Regions from separate parts of the Homo sapiens genome. Here all the other regions are linked to region 5. Evidence: promoter capture Hi-C in 16 types of primary human blood cells and fetal thymus (Javierre and others, 2016). All regions are on one chromosome and are shown on one strand. Each heading gives the region's core, a stretch centred on a gene start or on the middle of the fragment in contact. The rest is flanking DNA. Distances are from core to core; before and after follow the strand shown. Region 1 has its middle 17 kb from the start of GCNT2. Region 2 overlaps TMEM170B (transmembrane protein 170B). Region 3 has its middle 5.6 kb from the start of LINC02522. Region 4 overlaps TMEM170B (transmembrane protein 170B). Region 5 holds the start of ELOVL2-AS1 (ELOVL2 antisense RNA 1). Region 6 overlaps LINC02522 (long intergenic non-protein coding RNA 2522).

Region 1 (3,597 bases), core at 236-2,735, 540 kb after region 5:
ACAGGGGGCCTGTTTATTCCCAGCTAGTTTGCGTAAGAAAGGACGGTTTGTGAAATGCTTTATGAACAGGTCTGGCCGGCCAATCAAACACTCAGCATGGCGTTGTCAGGAAGCTTGCCTCTCACCAGAAGGGGCACATCTGGGAGTTCTCACTGTACTAGACCATCGCTAGGTGGAGATCAGGCAGCTCCAATGGAATACTTGAAAGTGGTTAAGAACGGACCCATTGTGATCCTTTTTTTCGGGGGGGAGAGTCTCACCATCTTTTTCAGGCTGGTTTTGAACACCTGGGCTCAAGCAATCCTTTCACTTTGGCCTCCCAAAGTGCGGGGATTACAGGTGTGGGCCACCATGCCTGGCCCCTAATATTTATTCATGTTCTACTTAAGAAATGCCTTTCCTATACCAAGGACTGAGGTAGATAGGTGCTGAGTATTTGGAATACAGGGGTGAGAAACAGATACTTTTTTTTTTTTTTTGAAACAGGGTCTCACTCTGTCGCTAAGGCTGGAGTGCAGTGGCATGATCTCAGCTCACTGCAATCTCTGCCTCCCGGGTTCAAGCCATTCTCCTGCCTCAGCCTCCCTAGTAGCTGGGACTACAGGTGCCTGCCACTGCGCCCAGCTAACTTTTGTATTTTTAGTAGAGATGGGGTTTCACCATGTTGGCCAGGGTGGTCTTGAACTCCTGACCTCAGGTGATCTGACCACCTAGGCCTCCCAACGTGTTGGGATTACAGGTGTGAGCCACCACGCCCAGCCCAGACACATTTCTTCCTACACAGATGCACACACATACATTCACATATACACAGAATAAAAAGACTGGGATATATACACAAGAATGTTAACAGTGGTTCTCACTGAGTTGTAGCATTATGGATTATTTTTATTACTTTTACTCTATTCCAGAGCTTGCACTGCTTTTATAAGCAGGGAAAAGATTTTGTTCAGTCTCAATGTGTGGAGCTAATTTCTGAAATCCAGAAATGTCAAAGCGGAAACTGCATCTGCTCTAGGAGTATCACAGTGGACCAAATACCACATCCTGAGACAGTACCATGTTTCAAACTATGGCAGGAGATCTGAAATTCCTGAAAGAAATACCCAGAGACTTCTGGGCAGTTTATGTTCATGAAAAGAAAAAAATATATCTGGTATTTTTATGAAGTTCTTTTCTGTGTTCTGAAAAACTTAATTCACTTTAATGAAATTAAGAGATTAATCAAGAATAAATTAAAACACTATCCTTTTTTCTACATATTCTTTCCAGATCCAGGAGAGGGTTCGGTGGGGGGAAGCAGTCATTTCTGGCCTTCCCTTGCCTTCTGACCTCCTGGCCACTGAAGTGCACAGGCCAACGCCAAATTTAATAACCTTCAGAGACAGATGTTTGTAAAGTGGAGCCCGGGCTTGATTAATTCAAACAGTGTCTAAAATCAGTGTTTGTTTTATTCCCTTATATTTGAAGTTTAAATGTCTACTGGTTATTGATCAACTTTTATTATGGATTTACTCATACAAAAAGGCTATTTGAAAAGGGCTAATCCCTCCCCCACCTTGAAAGTTGACAATTTAAACTAGCTCAGAAGAAGATCTGCGAAGCGGTAAAGAAACTTGCTTGGCTTTATTTCTTCCAGTGTTGCCCAAACTCATTTTTTTAGCTAAGTTTCTTTTTTATTTTGAGACGGGGTCTTGCTTTGTCAGCCAAGCTGGAGTGCAGTGGCATGAATATGGCTCAGTGAAGCCTCAACCTTCCGGGCTCAAGCAATCCTCCTGCCTCAGCCTCCCAAAGTTGAAGTGCTGGGATGACAGGTGTGAGCCACCACGAGTGGCCCTATGTGAGCTTGTTTGACAATACAGTCCTCTTTGGTAGGGTAATGTCTAATTGAATTATATAATGTCTGAAAATATATGTATATCTTTTTTTTTTCTTTTCAGACAGGGTCTTGCTTTGCTACCCAGGCTGGAATACAGTCGTGTGAACACAGCTCACTGCAGCCTTGACCTCCTGGGCTCAAGAGATACTCCTGCTTCAGCTCCTTAAGTAGCTGGGACTACAGGCACGTACCACCATGCCTGGCTAATTTTTTGTATTTTTTGTAGAGATGGGGTTTTGCCATGTTGTCCAGGCTAGTCTTGAACTCCTGAGCCCAAGTGATCCACCTGCTTTGGCCTCCCAAAGTGCTGGGATTTACAGGCGTGAGCCACCGTGTCTGGCCTTGCATATTATTTATAATGAGGAAGCTAACTTGATAATTGAGTTAATAGAATGAAGGCATGTTTAAAAAAATCAGGTGTTCTGACCAGACCCAGAGTTCCCACTTTGACTTGGAGAAAAGTTTAATTTGTAAATTTATACATTCCTATAGCATTTGAATTTGTCATAATAAGCAAATGCCTTTGAAATATTGAGGTTTTAAAAAGAGATTAAAATGCCATTAAAAGACACATATGCCAAAAGAAATGCAAAGAAGTGGATGAGGTTCAGGCCAGGGAGAAAAACAAACAAACCTGGGAACAATAAGTTGCACCAAATTGGGGTTCAGGGACAAATTTTTATAACAATTAGAAAATAAAGATACAATAACAGCAACAAGAAGAATCCAATAATGGTGAATGTGAACCTCAGAAGAGAGCACGGTAGGAGAGCCTGACACAGGAGTGAAAAAGCCGAAGGAAGCTCAGCTCTGCAGGATACTGAATCAGCAAGAGCAGGGCCAAGGATGAAGGTTTACAATTCTCAGTAGCCTTCTTCTTTCATGCCACTGGTGTTTAAGTTCAGAATCAAGGAACATTCTAGCGTATACATTATCGGGAATAAGTCAAGTAAGTTGTTAAACCAAAATGAAAGCTTAATTAGATAGCAATTCAGTAATCAGGACGCATATTTCATCGTTACTATAGCCAACAGTTTGCAAACATAGGACATCACACAGCACGGGACAGTGAACTCCGAAAGAGGGGAAACTAATGATATGAGCCCCGCGATTGCCCCAGCTTACTGAGTACAGAGTTATTCTGCCACAGGGCAGGCAGAGGAGTCCAGGGGGAGCCTGGCCATCTCCTTGAATGGAGCAGACAGATTTGAGAGTTTGAGGAGGTCAAGACTGCTGAGGTTCCTAGGGTGGAGTTACTGTGAAGGAGATAGTCCAGAGAGAGAACTCCAGACACATGCAAGAGGGTCTCCCTCAAGTCTTTAGCTAACGACCGATCAGGAAATATGCAAAGAAATGACCCAATGCCAAGGAAAGAATGACCCGAGGATTAGAGAAAAGAAACAGCAAAGCTTACACGGGGCTAACAATTGTTTGTGTTCCTTCCAGCTGGAGTAGAAAAACCTTGTAATTCTAAGTCATTAGGTAGTATACTTAGAAGGGGATTGCCTCAGCACAGTCAAACTAGATGAACAGCTGCCACAAAACCACGAAGGATATAGAAGGTCGACCTATTTGACATAGAAAGAGCCCTTCACCCAACAATATGAGAATATACATTCTTGGCCGGGCGTGGTGGCTCGTGCCTGTAATCCCAGCACTTTGGGAGGCCGAGGCGGGTGGATCACTTGAGGTCAGGAGTTCAAGACCAGCCTGGCCAA
Region 2 (3,292 bases), core at 739-3,238, 540 kb before region 5:
TCCCAGTCACTGGTGATGTGTATCTAGCCAACTCACTGGTGCCAATCCTGAATCTTGCTAAATCCATTTTGCACAAGTATCTTAACTTTCAAGGCACTAAGGCTTCATTTAGCTTTTAAAATCTGCCTGTGATTTACCAAAAGATTCATCAGTGGTCTGAGAGTTAACACAATTTGAAAGTGAGACTTTTAATACTTGTCAGGTAAACTATATTTTTGCTATTTAAATAAAGACATTTTAGCTAGTTAACTTTCAAGATAAAGTTGATTCCCTCATCTCAGAATAACTAGAGTCAGGGGCTAATATTTTTGGTAGAATCCTATGAATTTTGGATGGCTAAAACAAAAAATACCGTGAATTTCCTATTTGTTCATCTAAATGCGTGCAGCTCAAGTCTGAATGTGTGTATTGGTGAGAGGGCCAAATCTTTCAAAAAAATTCTTCCATTGTAAATGCATCCAACATCAAAAACATTAAGAAAGTGTCAACAGTTAAACTATCAACTCATCTGCTATTAAAAGCAAGTCATTTTTATGATCATTTACTCAACAAGTGCCACTATGTTGCTTTCTATGGAGAAAACTTTAAAATGTTCCATTCCAAAAATACTTAACAATGATGTGTAAATACTTTAAAAACAAGAGAAGCGTCATCATCAGTAGTACTCTCGAGTTAACGTTCCTTTAAACAAGGCTCTAAAAAAAGTGATTTCTGCTTAATTCAGCAAGACAGAATAAAATTTTTAAAGTGGTGATTTTTAGGAACTACCAATTTATAAGAGAAAAAGTGTTACAGTTATGGGACTCAGACGATTGATTATGCACCGCAATTCCTCTTTCTGTGTATTTGTGTCAAACTGCTTTTCCGTTTCAGTTATCCACCTAAATACATTCCCAAAAAGGGTGGAGTCATGTTACTACCAAGAGTAGATACATGTGGGTGCAGTACATAATCGTAAAAATGTATGTATGAGGTTCATGCTCTCCTGACTTGCCTAAAGTATTTACTTTTCAGTAAGATTAGAGCTGCATAACTGTAGGGGTTAAGAGTATTCTTTCCTAAACCAGCTCCTTGGATTCTATCAACAAATTGTACATATGTTTAAACTATAACATACGACATCTGTATGGAAAGAGGAGGAAGATTTTTAGGAAATTGCTAAATTCGTTCTCAAAATCAGGGAAGAGTTATTATGTAAGTTCAGTATATGTGCAATAAATGTAAAGAATGTGAAAACAACTTCCCTAAACTCAGGGGAAGAGATGATTATAGTTCATAGCTCAGTTCACTCAGAAATGTGTTTCCACTAATTTAAAAGTATTATCTGATATATCTCCACATTTACTGAAAATACTTCAGATATTAAGCATTATTTCCCCCAAATTCATGGATACATTTTTAGATAATTCAGCAACCTCCCTAACAACACTGTACTGCCTACACAGACCAGAGCTCCTTAAGTGAGAAGAGCAAACCTGTCACCACACACACACACAAAATGCAATACAATTTCAAAATGCACGGTGGTCAGTGAAGCCTCACATATAAAGAAACACAGCATGTGTAAACATGCAGTATACATACTCATCCAGTATAGTTTCTAGTCCTAACAAAACACAGGATGTAGGGCGCTTTGTCAAATATGTTTTTGTTTTTGTGTGTTACCTCTCCAAATGCTATAATTTTTAATCAAATAATATCCTTTTTATCCTGAAGAGTCTTCTTCCAAGATGTTATAACAAGGACGGGAAGTTAAGAAAGATTATAAAACCATTTGATTATTGGTCCGTTTTAACAATTCAGAGTTTCACCCGATTATTAAAAGAAATAGTAATTTACCCAGTTACCCAAAAAGTGTTACCAAATTTCTCTGCAATCGAAATCTGCTAGAATTTCTTCAGTAATTTTCCTCGTCCCTCACATCTTAAAAACAAATAATGACTGCAGAGATTCTGATTGAGACTGAGAGAAAAATCTGTAGTGTCAAGAGTGAAGTGGTTTGAGAATATTTCAGAAATTGCTCCAGGCATCGTTACTCCCTGAATTACATAATGAACATAAATTTAAAATAATAGTATTTGAAGTTAAAAAAAAATAGGCTGGGCACGGCAGCTTACACCTGTAATCCCAGCACTTTGGGAGGCCAAGGTGGGTGGATCCCTTGAGGTCGGGAGTTTGAGACCAGCCTGACCAACATAGAGAAATCTGTCTCTACTAAAAATACAAAACTGGCCAGGCATGGTGGTGCACGCCTGTAATCCCAGCTACTCGGGAGGCTGAGGAAGGAGAATCGCTTGAACCTGGGAGGCAGAGGTTGCGGTGAGCTGAGATCATGCCATTGCACTGCAGCCTGGGCAACAAGAGCGAAACTCCGTCTCAAAAAATAAATAAATAAAAGAAACAAAATAACAGCTAGGGCTTAAGCACCCTTGGCCTGTGGAAGAAAGAACTTGGTAGACACTGAATATCGTTCTATTTTTCTACAGAATTGGCACTACACTGTAGAGCCAAGGGCCCAGGGCCGGCAGAAGAAACAGACATATAGAAGACTGAAGGGTTATATATCGCTCTTACTTTTCAAGAAGAATAATTAGCAAATAGCAGAAAGTCAATAAATCAACATGGCTGAATGAATCCAAGGGAAGTAAGTGGGAATAGATAAGGGAGTCAAGGCTGACTACCTCTCTACCCTTTTCCTATTTTAACCAGTGGTCAACAGAACTCCTAATTTAATCCTGCTTGCACTGGCCATTTCCACCACCACCAATTCACAAAAGGTTCTTAAAGATCTGCTGATTTTAAAAAGAAAAAGTGAAAAGGAGATGAAGCAAGATTATAAGAAAACGTTTTTAGTTTCTTTCCTAAAGCATATGTAAGGAAAATATAGAAATGAAACAAAATTGATGAATTTTACAAAACAACATATTCAATTGGTAATGCAATTGCAAAATGTAATTTAAAAAAATTCTAGAGACTATCAGTTGATCATTTACTGTGAAATACATACTGCTTTGCCATTCATAAACAATCTCACGTAATCCTCACAATAACTACATGAGGTATTAGTCACATTTTACGGAGTATGAACTGAGGCTCAGAGAAGTTAAGTGATTTGCTCAAGGTCAAAAAGTTGACAAGTGACAGAGTCTTAATTCAATCTGTGTTGCTGGCTTGGAGTCTCGTATTCTCTTCACTATGTCACAGCCATGATATCTCAGTTATGGAAATTCTATTTAGTGGATGAACCAGGAAAATGAGAATTTGGAGGGATAACAGGCTAACTCTCAACTAA
Region 3 (3,456 bases), core at 128-2,627, 560 kb after region 5:
GCATGGCCCTAATCCAATAGGACTGGTGTTTTTCTAAGAAGAGGAAGAGACACCAGGAGCATGTCACAGAGGAAAGGTCATGTGGGGACACAGGGAGAAGATGGCCGTCTGCAGGCTAGGAAGAGAGCCTTCACCAGGAACTAACCCTGCTGGTAACTTGATCTTGGACTTCCAGCTCCAGACTATGAGAAAATAAATTTCTGTTGTTTAAGCCATGCAGTCTGTGGTATTTTGTTATGGCAGCCCAAGCTAGCTAATACAGGGACCAAAACAGTGCCTAGTTTCCTGGATTAACGTGAGAGCAAATGAGACTATGTACCTAGCACATAAAAAGCAATGGAGATGCTTATCTTCCTCTTCTCCATCATCATCATCATCAGCAGCAGCATCAAAATGTGCTACCTCCCAGGAGACATTCAGTGCTGATTTCTCCCAGGGAAGGGATGCTCCTTACAAGTCATCTTACATAACTTCCACCATTTTCATCAATAGATAGTTGTTACTCATTAAACATATATATACAGATTATTTATGGATCATATGTATATATACATGGATTATATATATGTGTATTTCATATATATATGTGTATAATCCTCTTTACAAATTCTCTAATACATAATTCTCTTTACAAATTCATTTGGCTGAGCAAAGAATAAAACTCACAACCTCATTAACACATCAAATACAAAAAGCTTCACACATTGGCAGTCCTTTAAAGCACGGTAGAAGCAACATGAGACCACAGACTGGAAGTAGGATTCAGGAAACAGTCACACAGCTGGCACTGAGGGGTCAGGTACCTAAGCCTGGGATGAGTAGAGTGAATGGAGATCTTGGGGGTTTCCTGAGATCAAGGACTTGGATTAACAAAGAGGTCACCAAGTCTGAAGTCAGGTAGAAGAAAAATCCCGCATCTTAAAAGGCACGCGAAACGGGTGAGAAGGGAAAAAGCCTGGAGATAAGGGGGCTGTACCAGTGAGAGGTGACAGCGTGCTGACAGCCCTCAGCCCTGGCTCGCTCTGAGCGCCTCCTGGGCCTGGGCGCCCACTCTGGCAGCGCTTGAGAAGCACTTCAGCCCACCACTGCACCGTGGGAGCCCCTTACTGGGCTAGCCAAGGCCGGAGCCGGCTCCCTCAACTTGCGGGGAGGTGTGGAGAGACAAGCCGGGCGGGAACCGGGGCTGCGTGCAGCGCTTGCGGGCCAGCGCGAGTTCCGGGCGGGTTGTGGGCTCAGCGGGCTCCGCACTCGGAGCGGCCGCCGGCTCGCAAGTCCGGGGCAGTGAGGGGCTTAGCACCTAGACCAGGAGCTGCTGTGCTCGTATTTCTCGCCGGGCCTTAGCTGCCTCCCCGCGGGGCAGGGCTCCGGACTTGCAGCCCGCCGAGCCTGAGCCTCCCCAACAGCCCAAGCCTCCCCGATGAGCACCACTCCGTGCTCCAGAGCGCCCAGATCCCATACGACTGCCCAAGGGCTGAGGAGTGCAGAAGTGCAGGCGCACAGCGCGGGACCAGCAGGCAGCTCCGCTTGCGGCCCTAGTGCAGGATCCACTGGGTGAAGCCAGCTTGGGTCCTGAGTCTGGTGTGGGACTATGGAGTACCTTTATGTCTAGCTAAGGGATTGTAAATACACCAATCAGCACTGTCTCTAGCTCAAGGTTTGTAAACACACCAATCAGCACCCTGTGTCTAGCTCAGGGTTTGTGAATGCACCAATCGGCACTCTGTATCTAGTTAATCTGTTGGGGACTTGGAGAATCTTTATGTCTAGCTAAGGGATTGTGAATACACCAATCGGCACTCTGTGACTAGCTCACGATTTGTAAATACATCAGTCAACACTCTGTATCTAGGTAATCTAGCGGGGACATGGAGAATTTTTGTGTCTAGCTCAGGGATTGTAAACGCACCAATCAGCACCCTGTCAAAACAGACCAATCAGCTCTCTGTAAAATGGACCAATCAGCAGGATGTGAGTGGGGCCAGATGAGAGAATAAAAGCAGGCTGCCTTGAGCTTCCAGTAGTAATAAGCTGTAACCTACTTTTGCTGTGTGGAAGCTTTTTCTCCTCCTCCTCCCTCGTTTTGTTTCTGCTTGGTCTTTAGGTCTGTGCTGCTTTTGTGAATTGTAGCACTCATTATGAAGGTCTGTGGCTTCACTTCTGAAGCCAGTGAGCCCACAAATTCACTGAGACGTAACTCCAGACGTGCCAGTTTTACGAGCTATAACATTCACTGTGAAAGTTAGTAGCCTCACTTCTGAGCAAGGAAGACTACATAATCCACCAAAAGGAAAAAAACTGAACACATTGGAACATTAGAAGGAGCAAGCTCCAGACATGCCGCTTATAAGAAATTTAATACTCACTGTTAAGGGCCCATGGTTTCATTTTTGAAGTCGGTGAAACCGGGCACTGACCAATTCTGGACACACCAGCAGCCCTGGAAAAGCATAAGTTTGTGAAGACTATTTGGAAAGTCTGAGTCCCTGTCCCTGGAGTGTGTCTTTTCTGTGTGTGTGTGTGGTTGTGTTGGTTTTTTTTTTTTTTGGAGTTTTTGGTCTTGGTTCCCAAGTTGGACTGCGTATGATCTCAACTCACTGCAACCTCTGCTTGCTGGGTTCAAGTGATTCTCCTGCCTCAGCCTCTGCTAGCAGCTGGGATTACAGGTAGGAGGCACCATGCCTAACTTTTGTATTTTTAGTAGAGATAGGGTTTCACCATGTTGGTGAGGCTGGTCTCGAACTCCTGACCTCAATCCGCCTGCCTCAGCCTTCTAAAGTGCTGGGGTTACAGGCATGAGCCACCGCAGCTGGCCTACAAAAAGTTTTAAACTATCCAGGCATGGTGGCATGCCTGTGGTGCAGCTATTCAGGAGACTGAGGTGGGAGGATCACTTGATCCCAGGTGAGCTCTGATTACACCGCTGCATTCCAGTCTGGGCAACAGGGCAACTCAGACAGTTGATGTCCAAGATCAGTAGCTGGGAGGGGCAAAATTCTCTCTTAGCCTCTTTTTTACCTGTTCAGGTCTTCAGTTGATTGGATGAGATCCATCCACATTAGGAAGATAATCTGCTTTACTCAGTTTACCAATTCGAAGGTGAATCTCACCCAGAAACACCCCCACAAACACACCCAGAATAATGTTTGACCAAATATCTGGGCACTCCATGGCCCGCCGAGTCGTTGACATGTAAAATTACCCTTTACGCCCAATAAGAAAGTTAAGGTGCCAGGCACAGTGGCTCATGCCTATAATCCCAGCACTTTGGGAGGCCGAGGTGGGGGGATCATTTGAGGTCAGGAGTTCAAGACCAGTCCGGCCAACATGGTGAAACCCCATCTCTACTAAAAATACAAAAAATTAGCCAGGCGTGGTGGTGGGTGCCTGTAATCCCAGCTACTTGGGAGGCTGAGACAGGAGAATCGCTTGAACCCAGGAGGCGGAGGTTGCAGTGAG
Region 4 (3,560 bases), core at 274-2,773, 520 kb before region 5:
AAATAATTCCTTCCATGGCTTCAAAAGGTTAACACTATACTCTAATTTCTTCTAAATGCCCCTATTACATAGCTATCATCCATCAATTTTATATTAAACCCCTGATATATTTGTAAACTTCTTAGAATTATAAAATTACTGTTTGAAATAGAATTTTTTATTTTCTACCCTAAATAGCAGTGTTAAGAATGTTTTTAACTACCTTGTAATTCTAATTCAAATCATTCCAGAAATCAGTCAATGATTTTTACCTTTTATCTTTAAGAATTTCAGTCATTTTCTCCTTGTGGCCCTGAACTTGGTATACTAAAAAATCAGTCAGATAAATTATTTGCCTCTAGTCATCTTAGTGTTCCTTATCCAGAACTTTTCAAGCTCCAATATTATCTCCCCACTGTGACCTCAATCGACTGTTCACTGACATCTCAGCTTAAGAGACAGTGGACAAGCACACTCTTCATTCTCTGTCTCACATTCATTCCCTTTCCTTCTGGCCACCCGACTGCCTCCCAGTCACTCCATATAGTTCCCACAGATGTCCTTGCACTGACTCCTTCTCCCTGACCATACTGTAGTGAGGGTGGAAAGAAAGGCAATCGATCCAAGCTGGGCCAATCGTTCCCTTCCCCTGGGACTTCTGGATTGGGACCAACTGAGTGTCCTTGCTCTTTGGGTAGCTGAAGCAGAAAGGCTCAAGATTTGTGAAGCTACTTCATCGTCGCATGATGAAAGCCACAGTACAAGAAGGAAAAAGATCCATCAAAGACAAGAGAGAATCAAGTCCCTTAATGAGTTATTTCTAAGGCCTGACTCATTACCATCCTTAGATTCAATGTCACATCCCAGTTCCCATTTAATAAAATCCCTCTTTTTACTTAAACTATTCAGATAAGGATTCTCTCACTTATACCTGAAAGAGCTGACTCTAAAATATTTAGATGTCACCTTGAGGATCATCCTTGATATGCAAACATTCTATAATACAAAGTATCTCATCTGTGATTTGGGCTAGGTAGTCACTATCAATTGTAAAAGAAAAGTCAATAAAATAGTCATTAAAGAATTAAAATGGATGAATCAAAACCTATGTATCCAAATATCATTAAACATAGATATTTACTGTTGGTAGGAATGTAAAATGATGCAGCTGCTGTGGAAAATAGTATGGAGGCTCCTCAAGAAGTTAAAAACAAAACTACCATATGATCCAACAATTCCACTTTCTGGGTATATACCCAAAAGAACTAAAAGCAGAATCTCAAAGAGATATTGGCACACCCATGTTTATCAGTATTATTCACAATAGCCAAGAGGTGATAGCAACTCAAGAGTCCCTGAATGGATAAATAAAACATGGTACACATACAACGGAAAAATTACTCAGTTTTAAAAGGGAAGGAAGGAAATCTTATCACATGCTACAACAGGAATGAACCTTGTGGACATTATGCTAAGTGAAATAAATCATCACAAATGAATACCATATGATTTTGTTGTTTTTTTTTAAGGCAGAGTCTTGCTCCATCACCCAGGCTGGAGTGCAGTGGCGTGACCACAGCTCACTGCAGCCTCCATCTCCTGGGATCAAGTGATCCTCCTGCCTCAGTCTTCCCAGTAGCTACAACTACACATGTGGGCCACCACGCCTGGCTAGTTTTTAAAAAATATTTTTTGTAGAGACAGGATCTGCCTGTGCTGCCCAGACTGGTCTAGAACCCCTGGCCTCAAGTAATTCTCCTGCCTCAACTTCCCAAAGTGCTGGGATTACAGGCGAGAACCACCACACCTGGCCTCAAGTTGTAACCTTTAAAATCAACCAGTAACCATAACCAGTGAAGTGTTTCCTTGCGTTCTATGAGCTGTTCTAGCAAATGATGAAACCTGAGGAGGGGTCAATGGGAACCCCCGACTTACAGTCAGTCACAAATATGGGAAGCGCAGACTTTCTACTGGTGTCTAAATGGGAGTCGTTTCTGGGACTGTGCCTTTAACCTGCGGGACTGGATGCTAACACCAGGTAAATGTCAGAACTGAACTGAACTGTAGGACACCCAGTTGGTATCCTAGAGAACTGCTTGGTGTGGGAAAAAAACCACACATCACTTGTCACAGAAGTGATCTGTGTGAGGGAGGAGAAAACAGTGAGTGCCTTTTCTTGGCGGGGAGGGGGGCCTGGTGTGGAGTAACCTCAGCTCACTGCAACCTCCACCTCCCAGGTTCAAGCGATTCTCCTGCCTCAGCCTCCCAAGTAGCTGGGATTACAGGTGCCCGTCACCATGCCTGGCTAATTTTTGTATTTTTAGTAGAGATGGGGTTTCTCTGTGTTGGTCAGGCTGTCTCAAACTCCCGACCTCAGGTGATCTGCCCACCTTGGCCTCTCAAAGTGCTAGGATTACAGGCGTGAGCCACTGCCCCCAGTCAACAGCGAGTATGCTTCATCAGTTATGTTTTTACCAATTTTTTTTAAAAAGTAAAAAATTTAAAAGCATGATATAAATTTGAAAAATACTTAGGTCAAGACCATAAATGACTAAGAATTTTAAAACGAAACAAAAACTCCTTAAAAAGGAAGGAGGGTATGGTTATTAAAAAGCAACATGAGTGATCTTTGTGGTAATGGATTTCTTCTTTGACTATAGTGGTGGATATACATGTAAGTGATACAATTGTATAGAACTAAATACACAATAGAGAAGAGTACAAGTGTAGAAGAAATACTAGCAAAATCTGGATAAGGTTGGTGGATTGCATCAATGTTAATATCCTGGTTGATATATTATACTGTGGATTTCTGAGATGTTCCTATTGGGTAAACTGGATAAAGGGTACATAAGCTCTCTATGTATTGGTTCTTACAACTGTGATTCTTATAATCTCAAAATAAAAGTTTAATCTTAAAAAACGAAAGAATAGAAAGATTTTTTTAAAATCAGCTTTACCCTGCCAAATTCTTAAGAACTGGCACGTAGAATGGACTCATGCAATTTGAAATTATTTCAAAGAAGATACATCTGATATATTTTACAGTGTGTGTTAAACTACCATGCATGCTTCTCAATGGCATACAAGATAGATGCTAGTGATTACGGAAATATAGACAAAACTTGCCTTTTAGAGGCTTTTCTCTTCCAGCATTCAGGGAAACAGTATTTCAGATCATTACTCTCAAACAAATGGCTTCAATTTATAATAAATACATTAAAATTTAAAAACCCCAACTTGCTCAGCAGATATTTGCATATTGAAAGATACAGTTTTCCTAAGTGAACCTAATAAAGTGAGAATATAAGGGAGTAGAATATGGGGGTGTATATTTTCATCAAGGGAGCTCTTTTCTCAACTTACCCTGAGACAAGGAAAGGCTCTGCAACAACCACAGGCTCTTCAATACAAAAGTCAACAATCCGCCTTGTACCTCACGCCCATTTAAAAAAGTTCTTATAATACAATTAGAGGAAATAATTTATTTATTGACTATATTTAACACTGTGAACAGGAAATTATCTGACATTATAAAAAAGTAGTGTTGTTTGACTACTGAATATGTAGCTATGATCTCA
Region 5 (3,337 bases), core at 658-3,157:
CTCTCTATTAGGAAACTATATATTAGGTGATTGTATGACAGTTAAGATTTAGCCCCGGTACCTACAGTTACTCACTCTGCTACTGCACAAAACTCTGCAAGGGCTCCCACACCGCCCCAGGTGTGGGATGCTAAGTGTATGGTGCAGGTACCTCCGTGCACAGCCACACGGGCTGCTCTCAACCCCAATAAACATGTTTACCACATGAGCCTCACATGTGGTAAACATTTTTTTTTTTTTTTTTTTTTTTTGAGACAGGGTCTCATTCTGTCGCCCAGGCTGGAGTGCAGTGGCGTGATCTCGGCTCACTGCAGCCTCCACCTCCAGGGCTCAAGCCATCCTTCACCTCAGCCTCCCGAGTGGCTGGGATCACAGGCGCAGGCCACCACACCCAGCTAATTTTTGTATTTTTTATTTAAGAGGCGGGGTTTCGCCATGTTGCCCAGGCTGGTCCCGAACTCCTGACCTCAAGTGATTCGCCTGCCTCAGCCTCCCAAAGTGCTGGGATTACAGGAGGGAACCACCACGCCCGCCAACTTCCCATGCTTGAGGGAGAAATGGAAGAAAGTTCATGTAATACTCAGGCAAGTCCAATTTTTTCGACGTCTTTCACTTGGGCCACACACACAACTAAAGTAACTAGAAGCGCAGGCTCTAGGAGGCCACCGTTCTGTTCACAGTGAAGAGGGTGCGCTCACCGTTGGTCGTGTCCGCTGGAAGCCCCGCGTCAGGCCGGGAGCGGGACAGAGACTCTTGCTCAGGGCCGTTATCCGAACTGATCCGCTTCCCACCGCACCCCCAGAGAAACCCACCCAACCCCCTAAACCTAAGAAACCCAGACTGCGCAAACCTGCAGGAACAGAGCCATTTCCCCCTAATGTGTGCTTCAAACCCACCGAAGCCCAACTGTAAGCAAGACCAGCGTGCCCGCCCTGCACGATACTGCTTCTCCCCGCAGCAGCGGCTGCCGATCTGGGCAGCGGGTGGGTATTCCTGGGGCTCCGTGGACGTTGAGCCGCCGCGCGAAACCGGCGCCGGCTGGACCTGCAAATCGCCGCCCGGCCGGCAGGGGACGCCGCGGACGCGAGGGCGAGGTCGGTCGCCCAGGAGGGGGCGCGCGAGGCCGCAGGGGCGGGGGGCGCCGCCTCACTTGCCCTGCGCCCCTCCCCCGCGCGCCCTCCTGGCGCGGCGGCCGGCGAGGCCCCTGTGGGAGAGGGGGCGGGGACGAAACGGCCCCGAGGCTCGGAGCGCCGCGCGGCGGCGGCGCGAGCCCGAGGGGGCGGGGAGGCGCGGGCGGGTGTGCGCGCGCCGGGCGTGGGTGTGGGTGGGGGTAACCGGCGCGGGCGCCGAGATAGCGCCGGGCAGAGGGACCCGGCTACCCTGGACAGCGCATCGCCGCCCGCCCGGGTCGCCGCGCCACAGCCGCTGCGGATCATGGTGAGTGGGGCCGCGCGCCGCCACCGACACCGCCGCGCTTTCTTTCTCTCCTGGACCCACGCACCGGGCGGGAAAGGGCCGAGCGGGCGCCGGCGCGGGCGCTGCGGGTTCGCCGCTGGAACCCGCTACCCTCGGAGGGGCCGGGTCCGCGCGGGCCTGGGGAGCGGGAGCTGAGCGTTTGGGCCGGGGGCGCGCGGGTCGGCCCGAGGCCCGCGGGTCTCGGGAACTTTGTCTCGGTCCCCTCTCCCCGGTCCCGCCCCGGCACCTCGAGGCGCCCGCTCGCGCCCAGTCCCCTGTTGCATGCACGGGGCCGGGCGCCCGGGATGCCCGAGGAAGCCGCCCCTCCTTCGCGGCGGCCATTCCCGCGCGCAGCCCACCCTCCGACCCTCCGGACCCCCGAACCTGCTCTCGCCACCGCCCGCCGACGCCTGGAGCGGAGAACGGCGTTTCCCGCGCGCGGCACACACCCTGCCTCGGGAGTTCTGGGGTTCGGGCCCTAACGGTCAAGCTCTTGCCCCTCTCCTCCCTTCACCGCGCCTGCACCCCGGGGGTGTGTCTGTGCACTCGTGGGTGCCTCCTGGGTTTGCAGATTGGCTTGGGAAGCGGCTGGGTTTCTATCAGTGTCTGGGCTCGGAGGGGCTTCTGGTGTGTTCTTTCCGACAACTCCTCTCTCTGCCCGATTTCCCAGGCCAGTCCTCCACTCTGGATTAGTAACGCTTCTTTCTCCTCGGCAGTAAGCTGTGTGTGTGTGTGTGTGTGTTCACCCGTGTCCGATGAACTGCCTGACAGTAAGCTGTGTGTGTGTGTGTGTGTGTGTGTGTGTTCACCCGTGTCCGATGAACTGCCTGACAGTTTTAGTAGCAGAGCCTGGTTCTTTGGTTACAAAGGGAGAACATCTGTTGTGCCATCCTCAAAGGACTGGTCTTTAGGCAAAATGTGAAATCCGCGTTTGTCTTCAGTGGTCCATATTCAGTGTTTGCCTCACCCCCTTCCCGTAGGGTTTTCTCTCCACTTCAGGACTTGTTAAAATAAGCGCACTTCCTTTCTCTTCCCCACTCCATCTGATTTTGCTCTGGCTACCCTTTTAGGCACGTACCATCTGCCTGATTATGTGTGACCACTTAATCTTAAAATTCCAACCTTTCCTACCCCGCCCACCACAGTGTATATTCCCCTTGCCTGCTTCATTTGTCTTCTCTTGAGCATGTATTAGTTAGCGTACTGCATATTTTGTTTCTTTAGCTTGTTTCTTGAACGTCTCCTCTACCAGAATATAGGTTTCAGGAAGACACAGATTTTTGTCATTTCGTTCATTGCTTGCTAGATTTCTAGTACCTACAGCAGTGCCTGGCGCACAGTAGGTACTTGATAACTCTTTTGAATTAACCCAATAAAGCAAGCTGCTTTATGTTAATGCACAGGTGGGGAGTAACTGCAAAGATTATGCAGTTGACATTTGTAATGATGAGAGTCTCAAGTGAAGTTTGGGAGGAGGGAGATACTCCCGACAGGAGGGACCCGATTTTGGCAGCCTTCAATGACGAGTCTAGGCGGCTATCTCTTATGCCTTGTCTGTCGCTTCATGCTCTTTGCACCTTGGCATCAGAGTGGACAAAGCATTTTTAGGACCAACTGGCTCTCCTTTTGGGCTCTGAAGCTTTGTCCTAAAGTATAGGTAGGAATTGTAGTGAGTAAGGGAATAAGTCCAAGGAAATCTCTTTAGCTGAATAGGAAAGTCATGGGAATGTTAACCTAAAAGAGCTAAAATCAAGGGCAAGCTCTTGAAAGCTTTATCCTGCCCAAGTGTGATGCTTCCTGTTTAGATAAGTATTTCTCAGAAACTGTGGGTCTTCAGAGGAATTTTTTTTTAATACCCAAATCCAAATTGTATTACTTTTTT
Region 6 (3,138 bases), core at 336-2,835, 570 kb after region 5:
CTGTTTTGATTATTGTTACCATATATGACTGTCTAAAAAATTTTATGTATGTATAAAAATTTTTATGTATACATAAAATTTATACATACATAAAATTTTTTTTGAGACAGTCTTGCTCTGTTGCCCAGGCTGGAGTGCAGTGGCACAATCTAGGCTCAGCTCACTGCAACCTGCGCTTCCTGGCAAGCGATTCTCGTCTTGTAATATATTTTGAAATCAGGAAGTGTGATGCCTCCAGCTTTGTCCTTCTTTCTCAAGCTTATTTTGGCTATCCAGGGTCCCTTGAGAGTCCACATAAATTTTAGGATAAATTTTTAATTGGATTTTTTAATAGGGATTACATTGTTTGCTTAATGTAATCATAATGCATATGATTTTCTTATGCCCCCAACAAATATGAAATCATAGTCATAATCATTTGCTAAATGATTACATTAAGATTGTTTTGGGTAGTGTTGACATTTTAACAAAACTAAGTCTTCCAATCATGAGCACAGATGTCATTCCATTTATTTGTGTCTTCTTTAAGTGCTTTCAGCAATGTTTTAAAGTTTTAGCGTACAGTCTTTTGTCTTCTTGGTTAAGTTTATTTCCAAGTATTTTATTCTTTTTGATACTATTGTAAATGAAATTGCTTTTGTAATTCCCTGCAGCCTCTTTCATGCTCTGAGCAGAACTGCATTGCATACAATCAATCACCTACACTCACAGGCAAGAATGTACTACTATTGTAATAATGTAAATTTTTCTAAAATCACAAAATGGAAAATGCATCTTATTTGCTTTTAACGTTTTAGCAGATGATGTGGTCAAGTAAATAAATAAAAGGAGAGAAAGAGAAGTTCTGTGTGTGTGTGTGTGTGTGTGTGTGTGTGTGTGTGTGTGTGTCTGTCTGTCTAAGATCCTTTTGTTGTTTGCTTTGGCCTAGTTTCTTATGCTTTGAGGAAAAGCTCATTCTCATTCATGTGACTTGCTTTGGCTAATAGGACACCAGAGCATGATGCAAGTGTGGCTTAATCGGTGCTTGCACATTGGGCTTGTTCTTTCCAAACCTGTTGCCCCGATTCTGCAAGGCTATCCTGCTGTAGAAGGAGGCCCTGGAGGACAAGACACCATGTGGGGAAAACAGCCATGGGGAGCAGAACCGAGGTATCCCAGCTTAGCTCCCAACTGACAGCAGCCACATGAGTGAGCAGAAAAACAACTTCCAAGGGTGATTTAGCTACTGCTGCTGTGGAATGTCAAAACTTTCAGCAAGGGAGCCCGATGCAGATCTGTTGATATGACACCATTCCACAAGAAGACCAACTGATGGCTTTGTGGCAAGTTGACTACACTGGGCTGTTTCTATTCTGGGAAGACAGAGATTTGTTCTAAGAGGAATAGGCATGTGTTGCAGGCATAGGTTGACCTTTCCTGCCATGGAGCCTCCTCTGGTACCACTATTTGAAGGTTGAAGGAATGTTGATTCACCAGGATTGAGTCAGACCAGCCAAGCCTATGACCATGATGTCAACTGACTGTATCACCTGTCACATCATCCAGAAGCTACAGACTTATAAGGCATTGGAATAACTTGTAGATGGCCCCGTTAAAGTACCAGCTTAGAGGCAACACTCCATGAGAATGAGACATCATCTCCAGGATGGCACATACACATTGAATCACACAGCATTGATAAGGAGATGGCTCCCCAGTAGGAAGAATATATTGGTCATGAACCAAGGGATGAAGCAGAAGTGTCTTGCTTCCTGTCCCTGCAGCCTCTCTTTCTGCAGTGCTAGAAATCCTGGTCAAAAGGGGGCATAATTTTATCAGGGGACACAGCAAAAGTCTCCACTACATTGCAGCTATGCCTGCTGCCTGGGGATTTTGGGCTTCTTATAATTGGGACCAGCAATAAAAGAGAAGAGTCACAGTCTTGGCAGGGCTAATTGACCCTGATCAGCAGGAGAAGAAAGGCTGTGGTTCCACTATGAGGGTAGGGAAGACGTGTGGCACCACTGATCCACTTTTGCAACCCATGGTACTCCCGTGGCCAGTTGTGATGACAGACAAGTGCAGGAACACTTTTGGGAAGGGCATGGTGGCCAGAGTTCAGACCCCATGGGAATGAGGACCAGGGTCACACCACTGGATAAGCCAGGAGGTAAGCTGCAGAGGTGAGGGGGAATCTAGACTGGGGATTAGGGGAGGAAAATGAAAAGTATCAGTCATTGCCCTGAGACCAGCTGCAGCAGCAGGTGTTGTAGCTTGTGCTTCTAAGCCATCTACTTTTACATTTCCTCCAGGAAGAGAGGCCCACTGGAAGGCTGGAGGAGCTGCTCCCCAGATGTAGATGAAGTAGATTTGAGCAGCACAGTGGTGGACCTAGTAGAGGCGGACATCAAGATCCTCTTCAAGGAAAGATTATCAATATAGTTTTCCCTGACCCAGGTGCCATGTGTTTTCTGTCATATTCACGTATGCTAATACATAATTGTGCAAGTGGGGTAATATCTGGGACACTTCATGGTTCATATCAAAACACAGAGTGAAGAGAACATCCTCTGGGCCATCTCAGAGTGTGAGTTTGGGGCGGGGGTGGCTCCTGGTTAACATTTCTGTCCACTGCAGCATTCCTTTTCCCTTTTGCTTTTAGATTCTTCCCTTGACATCACACCAGGAAAGTCTGACAACTTAACTTTATTGGATATAGGCAACCGTTGAATCCAAGTTTTGCCCACTGAATCCATCAAATTGTTACAGCCAATTCTAGATGCCTGAGTGGACACATGAAATCCAGATTCCCCAGTAAGCGCATCCCCATTAATAAACTGACCAAATGCAATGTTAATCTGTTCTATAACCTTTAGAATCCATCCCAACATATATTTTTTAGGTTCCTGCCAAGATATGTTAGCAAAAGCTTGCAATTTTTTGAAAAATGAATTATCTCTTCCTGGGACATGTGTTGTACTTTTCTCTCTGAAATAGGCTGAGCTCTGACTCCATTAAAAGTCTGAAAGCAATGAAGAGTGAAGGAGCGGATATTGGGGAGAATAGGCATCCTCTTGCAAGATAACTGCCTCAAAGTCATTATAAGGTTTTCAAGCAAGAGAAAGCTAATTTCCTTACACATATGAAGAAGCGTTGCTT

Evidence for each region. Contacts are between HindIII fragments. The CHiCAGO score rates a contact against its expected background, and 5 or more counts as called.
Region 1: a fragment that was not itself captured here is called in contact with the fragment with the promoter of ELOVL2-AS1 in region 5 in 4 of 17 cell types (naive B cells, erythroblasts, megakaryocytes and 1 more); the score reaches 6.4 in naive B cells.
Region 2: a fragment that was not itself captured here is called in contact with the fragment with the promoter of ELOVL2-AS1 in region 5 in 1 of 17 cell types (fetal thymus); the score reaches 5.4 in fetal thymus.
Region 3: a fragment that was not itself captured here is called in contact with the fragment with the promoter of ELOVL2-AS1 in region 5 in 2 of 17 cell types (erythroblasts and naive B cells); the score reaches 8.5 in erythroblasts.
Region 4: a contact is called between a fragment that was not itself captured here and the fragment with the promoter of ELOVL2-AS1 in region 5, in 1 of 17 cell types (endothelial precursors). The highest score is 6.3, in endothelial precursors.
Region 6: a fragment that was not itself captured here is called in contact with the fragment with the promoter of ELOVL2-AS1 in region 5 in 7 of 17 cell types (naive B cells, M0 macrophages, erythroblasts and 4 more); the score reaches 9.0 in naive B cells.

The regions. Positions count from the first base shown.
Region 1 is chr6:10,502,158-10,505,754 of GRCh38, reverse strand. No RefSeq gene overlaps it. Among named protein-coding and RNA genes, the nearest start is that of GCNT2, 17 kb to the left of the region's middle. The HindIII fragment of the contact is 2,740 bases long and covers 116-2,855 here.
Region 2 is chr6:11,579,118-11,582,409 of GRCh38, reverse strand. TMEM170B (transmembrane protein 170B) reads right to left here. Exons shown (of 3, transcript NM_001100829.3): 3 at 1-3,292. Among named protein-coding and RNA genes, the nearest start is that of TMEM170B, 43 kb to the right of the region's middle. The HindIII fragment of the contact is 4,660 bases long and covers 1-3,292 here.
Region 3 is chr6:10,485,820-10,489,275 of GRCh38, reverse strand. No RefSeq gene overlaps it. Among named protein-coding and RNA genes, the nearest start is that of LINC02522, 5.6 kb to the right of the region's middle. The HindIII fragment of the contact is 1,360 bases long and covers 698-2,057 here.
Region 4 is chr6:11,561,915-11,565,474 of GRCh38, reverse strand. The region is part of intron 1 of TMEM170B (transmembrane protein 170B); the gene reads right to left. Among named protein-coding and RNA genes, the nearest start is that of TMEM170B, 26 kb to the right of the region's middle. The HindIII fragment of the contact is 5,292 bases long and covers 1-3,560 here.
Region 5 is chr6:11,042,328-11,045,664 of GRCh38, reverse strand. It overlaps ELOVL2-AS1 (ELOVL2 antisense RNA 1), which reads right to left and starts at 1,907. Exons shown (of 5, transcript NR_038964.1): 1 at 1,840-1,907. ELOVL2 (ELOVL fatty acid elongase 2) reads left to right here and starts at 1,360. Exons shown (of 8, transcript NM_017770.4): 1 at 1,360-1,437. The coding sequence starts at 1,435. RefSeq lists enhancers at 1-329, 330-830 and a silencer at 1,265-1,464. The HindIII fragment of the contact is 4,245 bases long and covers 1-3,096 here.
Region 6 is chr6:10,469,884-10,473,021 of GRCh38, reverse strand. LINC02522 (long intergenic non-protein coding RNA 2522) reads left to right here. Exons shown (of 4, transcript NR_183333.1): 2 at 987-2,149; 3 at 2,292-2,793. Among named protein-coding and RNA genes, the nearest start is that of LINC02522, 11 kb to the left of the region's middle. The HindIII fragment of the contact is 2,650 bases long and covers 261-2,910 here.